Linked DNA regions of Homo sapiens: region 2 is linked to region 1. Evidence: promoter capture Hi-C in 16 types of primary human blood cells and fetal thymus (Javierre and others, 2016). All regions are on one chromosome and are shown on one strand. Each heading gives the region's core, a stretch centred on a gene start or on the middle of the fragment in contact. The rest is flanking DNA. Distances are from core to core; before and after follow the strand shown. Region 1 holds the start of YES1 (YES proto-oncogene 1, Src family tyrosine kinase). Region 2 overlaps USP14 (ubiquitin specific peptidase 14).

Evidence for each region. Contacts are between HindIII fragments. The CHiCAGO score rates a contact against its expected background, and 5 or more counts as called.
Region 2: a contact is called between a fragment that was not itself captured here and the fragment with the promoter of YES1 in region 1, in 1 of 17 cell types (activated CD4 T cells). The highest score is 6.1, in activated CD4 T cells.

What each region holds. Positions count from the first base shown.
Region 1 is chr18:810,188-813,917 of GRCh38, reverse strand. It overlaps YES1 (YES proto-oncogene 1, Src family tyrosine kinase), which reads left to right and starts at 1,676. Exons shown (of 12, transcript NM_005433.4): 1 at 1,676-1,804. RefSeq lists enhancers at 474-1,015, 1,016-1,558 and silencers at 1,290-1,799, 1,850-1,909, 1,980-2,069. The HindIII fragment of the contact is 10,737 bases long and covers 1-3,730 here.
Region 2 is chr18:164,855-168,584 of GRCh38, reverse strand. It overlaps USP14 (ubiquitin specific peptidase 14), which reads right to left. Exons shown (of 16, transcript NM_005151.4): 3 at 1,766-1,798. Among named protein-coding and RNA genes, the nearest start is that of USP14, 8.2 kb to the right of the region's middle. The HindIII fragment of the contact is 966 bases long and covers 1,516-2,481 here.

The DNA of each region.
Region 1 (3,730 bases), core at 427-2,926:
GTCTCCAACTCCTAGACTCAAGTGATCCTCCTGTCTTGGACTCCCAGAATGCTGGGGTTACACGTGTGAGCCACTGTGCCCGGCCTATTTTAGAGGTGATTTTTGAGACTGAGTGTTTAGGAAGACGAAATTATCTCTATTTAGTGAAGAAAGGCAACAGCTCAAGGAATTTTCTATTTTAATAAAAGCTGAATATAGACCTACATAAAATTTTAAAGCCCTGAGACAGTCAATGACAAATGAAGTTTTAGTAGCTAAGAAAATACAGCATCGTTCCACATTATGTGTCTCTTTAACGCCTACGCCTACCTTTCGTTCATTTAGTGAGCTGAAGAAAAAAATGTTCAAACCCTTATATGCATTTCCTTAAGTTCCTAGAATACCGGAATACTGACACATATGATTGCACTATTTCCTATCCGTCGAAGATGATTCTGAATTTCACTAAAAACCGCAAAGGAAACCAATAGTCACAAAATAATTCTGATAACCCCACCAAAGAGGAAATAAAGAGAGGAAGTTACTCTAAAAGTCTGATAGGGCAAAAGTGACTGCAGCAGAAGGGCCTCAAGGTTCAGTCCATGAGGACCTTGATTAACCTTCATCTTTACGCCCCCACCCCATCCTTCCGGGTCCTCCCCCTTCTTCAACGACTGGCTTTACAAGGCTCATAGGAAAGGTGCGTGTATTCAGACGGACACGATTCCAGCTGTGGCTCCTCCACTTTCAGGGTCGCTGTTTCCACAGTTGACAAGCAGGAGAACCATACTTGTTGCACTTCCCTCACTGGGCTGCCGCCAGCATCATATAGAAAAACGCTGTCCCAACATAAGCCAAAGCCACCATGACTGGGATAGTCGCCAAACAGAACTCAGCTTCGGTTCCCCTCCCGGCAAGGCTGGTTCGACCTACAGTCAACAGGAAGCTCCTGGGGGCAGGGACAGGATCCCTGCCTCGGAAGGAGGCAAGACGTGAACGTTTTTTGGACGGCGATCAGGATGGTGATGAGGGTGTGAGTAACGCCCCCGGCTCACGCGGTTGGGCTTGAGATTTTACTACCAACGACAAAGGGTGCGGAAGCGTAGCGCTGAGAAGCAAACAGCCAACCAAAAAAACTCAACCCCGTCCTCCCCCACAAAAGCAAGCCCCAAAGCCCTGGCCACTACTGAGAGCTGGGCCAAGGAACAGAGAAAGGCAGAGGGGCAGAATCGGAGCGCTCCATTCAATCTCCGCGGCAGCCGAGCGTCGGTGGGTTCGCGGGTGGGAAGGGACGCCGCGGGCCTGCTCTCCGGGCAGGGAAGCACCTCCTCCTCACGCCCCCTCGGCCTGCACCGCCCCCGGGAATCCGCCCCGGACCCCGCCGCCATGTTGGGTCGGGAGAAGTGACACGGACCGGTCGCCTATCCTGACCACAGCAAAGCGGCCCGGAGCCCGCGGAGGGGACCTGACGGGGGCGTAGGCGCCGGAAGGCTGGGGGCCCCGGAGCCGGGCCGGCGTGGCCCGAGTTCCGGTGAGCGGACGGCGGCGCGCGCAGGTACCCGCAGCCCCCGCCCCCGCTAGAAGTCAGGGGGCGGGGCCGGGGGGGGGGGGCGGAGGAGGTGGAGAGTGAGGCCGAGGCGTGGGGAGCCCGGGAACTCCCTCCTCCTGAAGTAACGCGTCCCGGGCCGGCTCTGCCGTCGTTGCTGCCGCCGGGCGCCCCGGGACGAGGAGGTGGAGGAGGGAGAGGGCCCGCGGGCCTCGCCTCCGCCCTCCGCCACCTCGAGCTGCGGTAGCAGCGACTCATGAGAGCGCGGCCGGAGGACAGGTAAGGACCCGGTGGGGCCCCGCGGGCGGAGGGTTCCACCTCTGCCCGGACAGGGCTAGGCCCCAGCGCCCGGAGCCGCCGCCGCCGCCGCCGCCGCGGTTCCCCGCCCCCGCGGGCCCGAGTCGGGAAGTTGGGAAGAAACTTCTCCCCTCCCCCGGATCGCCCGGCGGGCTTGTCTCGTTCCCCGCGCTACCTGCTCGCCCCTGACTCGGTCTCTGCCCTGTCCAGACCTGCCGGGTCCCGCCCAAGTCCGACCTGAGGTTCCAGGGGCGTGGGGACACTCCCCACCCCTTGTCTTTGGGGTCGTGTGGACCGCCCGGCGACGGGGAGGAGAGGTTTATTTTTGCCCCTACGGCCGAAGTAGGGGCGAGGGAAGCGGCCCCTTTGGGTCCTAAAGGCTGGGGGTCTGTGTATCGGCCGACGCCGGTAGCAGCTGTGCGGGGAGAGGAGCGGGTGTGTGGGGCGAGTGGATGAGCCTTTCTGGCTTTACTTGGTTTGATTGAAAACCGCAACATGTTTAAAGTTTTCCTTTGTTTTGGGTTGGGGGTTGGGAAATTTACCATTCAGCGTCCACTTTTACGGAATCATGCCACTCCGCCTCCCGTTGCGTTCGGTTCCCTGTCCACATGTGTTAAAGAAAATTGTCTTAAAGTGTGTTTTTCTTCTTGATAATTGCTTCCAGCTTTCACTTTATTGGGCATGGGGCAGAGCTGTTTTAAGAAGCTCTTTGAAAATCAAGTCTGGTGTAGGGACTTTAGTTTTTGTTTTGTAATGAGTAGGACTTAACAGTTCGGATTTGGTTGAATCATTTTCTGCATAATTAATTGATACAGGCGTGGAATAACATACTGTATAATTATAAATTACTAAAGGAAATAATGAAAGTCTTTGGTGGAAGCACAATTTTATGTCCATTTATTATGTATATACGTTCCACGGGTGTGTGTTTTCACAGTCGATTTCACATGATATGATTATAGTATCTTCATGTATTATAACTGTAAGATTACAGTGCCAAAGATACCTTGATAATTTTAAATATTTAAACCATCCTGTTACACTTCTAAAGTTAAATTACGCACTAAGGAAAGTATTACTAAATGTATACACGTGACTGTGCATTTAAGGAAAAGTGCATGGTAAATCTAATATCTTAACTATCACAGTGCTTGGCACACGGTGGACAGGAAGCATTTTGAATGGTCAGGTAATAAAGGAGTATCTTGTATTAGCCAAGGATCTTGTATGCATCACTTACGATGTTCATATATTGTACAGTAAGAAAGTTTTACTTTAGCAAATAATATATATGGTTTTTTGGTTTTTGTTTGTTTGCTTATAAGTGTGAGACCCCTGCCACAATTGACATGTAAGGAAAGGAAGTTAAATTGTATTTTTATTTTTGGACATTAGCTAAAAGTCGGTGGAGATTTTAAATGCTGGTTGACAATTCAGAGGGTCCTACATTTGAAAAAGACAATTGCCTTTGATCTGAAAACAAAACAGTTTATATCCATGTTTCCAGGATAAAAGATAAAAGGGCTCTTAAAATATATACTCTGTTGTAACCACTGTAATGTTATAATGGCTTTAATTTCGTAGTTAGGTTTTGCTGACTTCATAAACCACAAAATTGATTCCTTTCTGTTCATCTGAAAGTGAAATTACAGCTTTGACCTGTCTTCCTGGGTTAGGTGGAATTTGTCTTGTGGTCGAAGTATAATATTAATACATGGGCTGTTTTTGTGTGTGTGTTTTAGTTCAGGAAATTCACAAGCTGAAAAATTAATGTCTATGCAAGTAAAATTTCTTCATGGTATGTATTGATAAAAGAATAAATGTGCTAAAAGACTAGAAGTAAACCTGTATAAGTGAAATATTACCAACCGATGGTGTAAGACTTACTTATTCAAAGTTGAAATTTGC
Region 2 (3,730 bases), core at 749-3,248, 650 kb after region 1:
TAGGCGTTTGTAATCCCAACTACTCAGGAGGTTGAGGCAGGAGAATCACATGAACCCAGGAGGCAAATAATGCAGTGAGCCAAGATCACACCACCACACTCCAGCCTGGGCGACAAAGCAAGACTCTGTCTCAAAAAAAAGAAGTCATTTGCTTATCAATTATATGTCAATAAAGTTTAAGAAATCTGAAAGTCACGAATATTGAAAAGGGAGAAGTAAAATTGTCATTATTTGCAGATAACACGTTTATGTACACAGAAAACCCAATGGAATCTGCCCAAAACACAACTGGAATTAGTAAGTGAATTGCTTACAAGAATAAAGAATGAAAATAAACTTAGAAAAATCAACTGTATTTTGGCCGGGTGCGGTGGCTCACGCCTGTAATCCTAGCACTCTGGGAGGCCAAGGTGGGCGGATCACCTGAGGTCGGGAGTTCGAGACCAGCCTGACCAACATGGAGAAACCCCATCTCTACTAAAAATACAAAAGTTAGCTGGGCGTGGTGGTGGGCGCCTGTAATCCCAGCTCAGGCAAGAGAATTGCTTTAACCCGGGAGGCAGAGGTTGCAGCGAGCCGAGATCGCGCCATTGCACTCTAGCCTGGGCAATAAGAGTGAGACTCTGTCTCAAAAAAAAAAAAAAAAAAAAGAGAGAAAAATCAATTGTATTTTTACATTCTAGCCATGAACACTGGAAATATTTTTTAATATTATTTTAAGCAGCGAACAAATGTTAAGTTCCAATAATTTAAGAGAAGTCATGCAAGGGCTGGGCACAGTGACTCACACCTGTTAATCCCAGCACTTTGGGAGGCCAAGGCAGGAGGATCGCTTGAGCCCTGGAGTTCAAGACCAGCCTGGGCAACATAGTGACACCCCCATCTCTACAAAAAATAATTAAAATTAATTAATTAACTGGGCATGGTAACACCCGCCTGTGGTCCCAGCTACTTGGAAGGCTGAGATGGAAGGACTGCTTGAGGCTGGGAGTTTAAAGCTGCAGCGAGCCATGACCATGCCACTGTGCTCCGGCATACGTGAGAGTGAGACCCTGTCTCAAAAAAAAAACCACTCATGCAAAACCTCTATGTTTAAAAACTACAACTCTGCTAAGAGAAAAACAGAGACCTAAATAAATAAGGAAGTACATCATATTCAGGGATTTTAATACTCAATATTGTTAAGATGTTTATTCTCCCCAAATTGAGCTACAGATTCAATGTAATCTCAAACAAAATCTCAAAGAGGAGAAAGTTGGAGAGCATAAGAACATATACTATCTTATTTCAAGACTCTTTTTTTGGAGACGGAGTCTCGCTCTGTTGCCAGGCTGGAGTGCAGTGGCACGATCTCGGCTCACTGCAATCTCCGCCTCCCAGGTTCAAGTGATTCTCCTGCCTCCTGCCTCTGCCTCCCGCCTCAGCCTCCCACCTCAGCCTCCCGAGTAGCTAGGATTACAGGCGTGCACCACCACACCCAGCTAATTTTTTTTTCAAGGCTTTTATTATAAAGCTTTAGTAATCAAAACCATTTGGTACTAGTGTAACTTTAATCTACTAGATCAATGAAACAAAAACCCAAAAACAAACCTATAACTACTTTTCAAGAAAGAGCCCAACACAAGTCAATGGGAAAAGGTAAGTATTTTCAACAGATAGTGCTGGAACAACTGGATATACACATGAAAAAAAGTCATCTGGAATGTATTTTGGTATCATAATGAGGTTACTGCATTATAATAAACGTTCATAAGATAATACTTACATTTTTTATTTTGATGTTTCCCCAATCATCATCCTGTTTCAAAGACAAACAAAAGACATTTAACCACCACTGTACAAGCTGAACACAATCTAATAATCAATTTATTTTAATGTACTTCAAAACAGAATAAAATTTATCCTATATGCAGATTTTATTTAAAATTATGGCAATTAAAAAAATTTTTTTTGGCCAGGCACAGTGGCTCACGCCTGTAATCCCAGCACTTTGGGAGGCTGAGGCAGGCAAATCACCTGCGGTCAGGAGTTCGAAACCAGCCGGACCAATATAAAGAAACTCCATCTCTACTAAAAATACAAAAAGTAGCTGAGCATGGTGGTGCACACCTGTAATTCCAGCTACTCGGGAGGCTGAGACAAGATAATTGCTTGAACCCAGGAGGCAGAGGTTACAGTGAGCCGAGATCTCACCACTGCACTCCAGCCTGGGCAACAGAACAAGGCTCCATCTCAAAAAAAAACAAAAATTTTTTTTAAACACAAGTGGTACTAAAGCCAGGGTTTCAAATAATTTGCTTCAACTGCATAAGGTAACACAATACAAAAGGCAGTAACCTGTATTTACAGCATCAAATACTAAAAAACACATAAGTATAAAAAAATACTTTTAGCAAGTACTAAAAAACACTTGACTAATGACAAATGATAGATCCTATTTTTTGGATGTTTGGAACCAGCAGAGCTAATAAATAACAAGCTTACGTGGCAAGAATGAAGAGTTAATGTCTATAACGCATCTATAAAGCAAGTATATACTTTCCTTTCAATATGTTGAATAAAAATCAAGAATTTTTTTTTTAAATGCATGATTAGTCCAGAGTAATATTTTTACTAACTACAGCTAGGCCTTTCCCCTCATAGGATAAAGTCGATTCTATATTACTCCCTTTTATAGAAGGTATCGGGTACCCAATATGCTTGTCTACCCTTCATTGGTGCCACTAATTATCTCTTTTATCTGCTTTAAAATGGAACGGTAACTTCCTAAAGGCCCTTCTCAATTTAAGGTCTATGACTGCTAAACATAATGAATGATAACTATAAATGCCCCCTAAGATCACTTACCCAAGGTCACACAAAACTGGGAAGTGAACACAGATCTGCTTGATGTATAAATCATATGCTCTTTTGGTGCCTTACTATGTTACTTAAACCTCTTTGACACTCATTTATAAAATTTCCTCATATATAAGATATGGATAACATACAGCTGAGAATTAAAGAAAATATAATAAAAGCCTGACATAAAATAAGTACTCAATAAATGGTAACCATTAGCAGTCACAGTTTCATTTAATTCGCATACTTCTATAATTCTCGACAGCATACCACTAGTACAGTGTTCAGCATAGATTAGGCTATGAAGTTCACTAAAGGCCAAAGGTTCATACTGTACCTTCGGGGGTAAACAAAGATTTTCCTCCAACGTGTGTTTTACTGCCCAGTGGGGGTAGCCTGTCTTTATCTCTAAAGTTAACTATAGATCTTTAGCATTTTATCTAACCCTTGAAGGAAGTATTTTTTAAAGCTATACTTATATTATTAAAAATAATAGAGGCCGGGTGTGGTGGCTCACGCCTGTAATCCCAGCACTTTGGGAGGCCCGAGGCAGGCATATCACTTGAGGTCAGGAGTTCGAGACCAGCGCCAACATGGTGAAACACTGTCTCTACCAAAAATACAAACATTTGTCACGCATGGTGGTGGTGACCTGTTATCCCAGCTATTCGGGAGACTGAGGCAGGACAGTCACTTGAGCCCGGGAGGCGGTGGTTGCAGTTAGCCGAGATGGCGCCACTGCACTCCAGCCCCTGAGTGACAGAGGGAGACTCAATCCCAAAAAAAATAATAATAATAATAGATATCTTCTTGTCTTTTCTGCAGTCCTTCATCAATGATGCTGGCAGGGATGGATTCTTAACTGTGGTCACTGAGATCATTCCAAAGG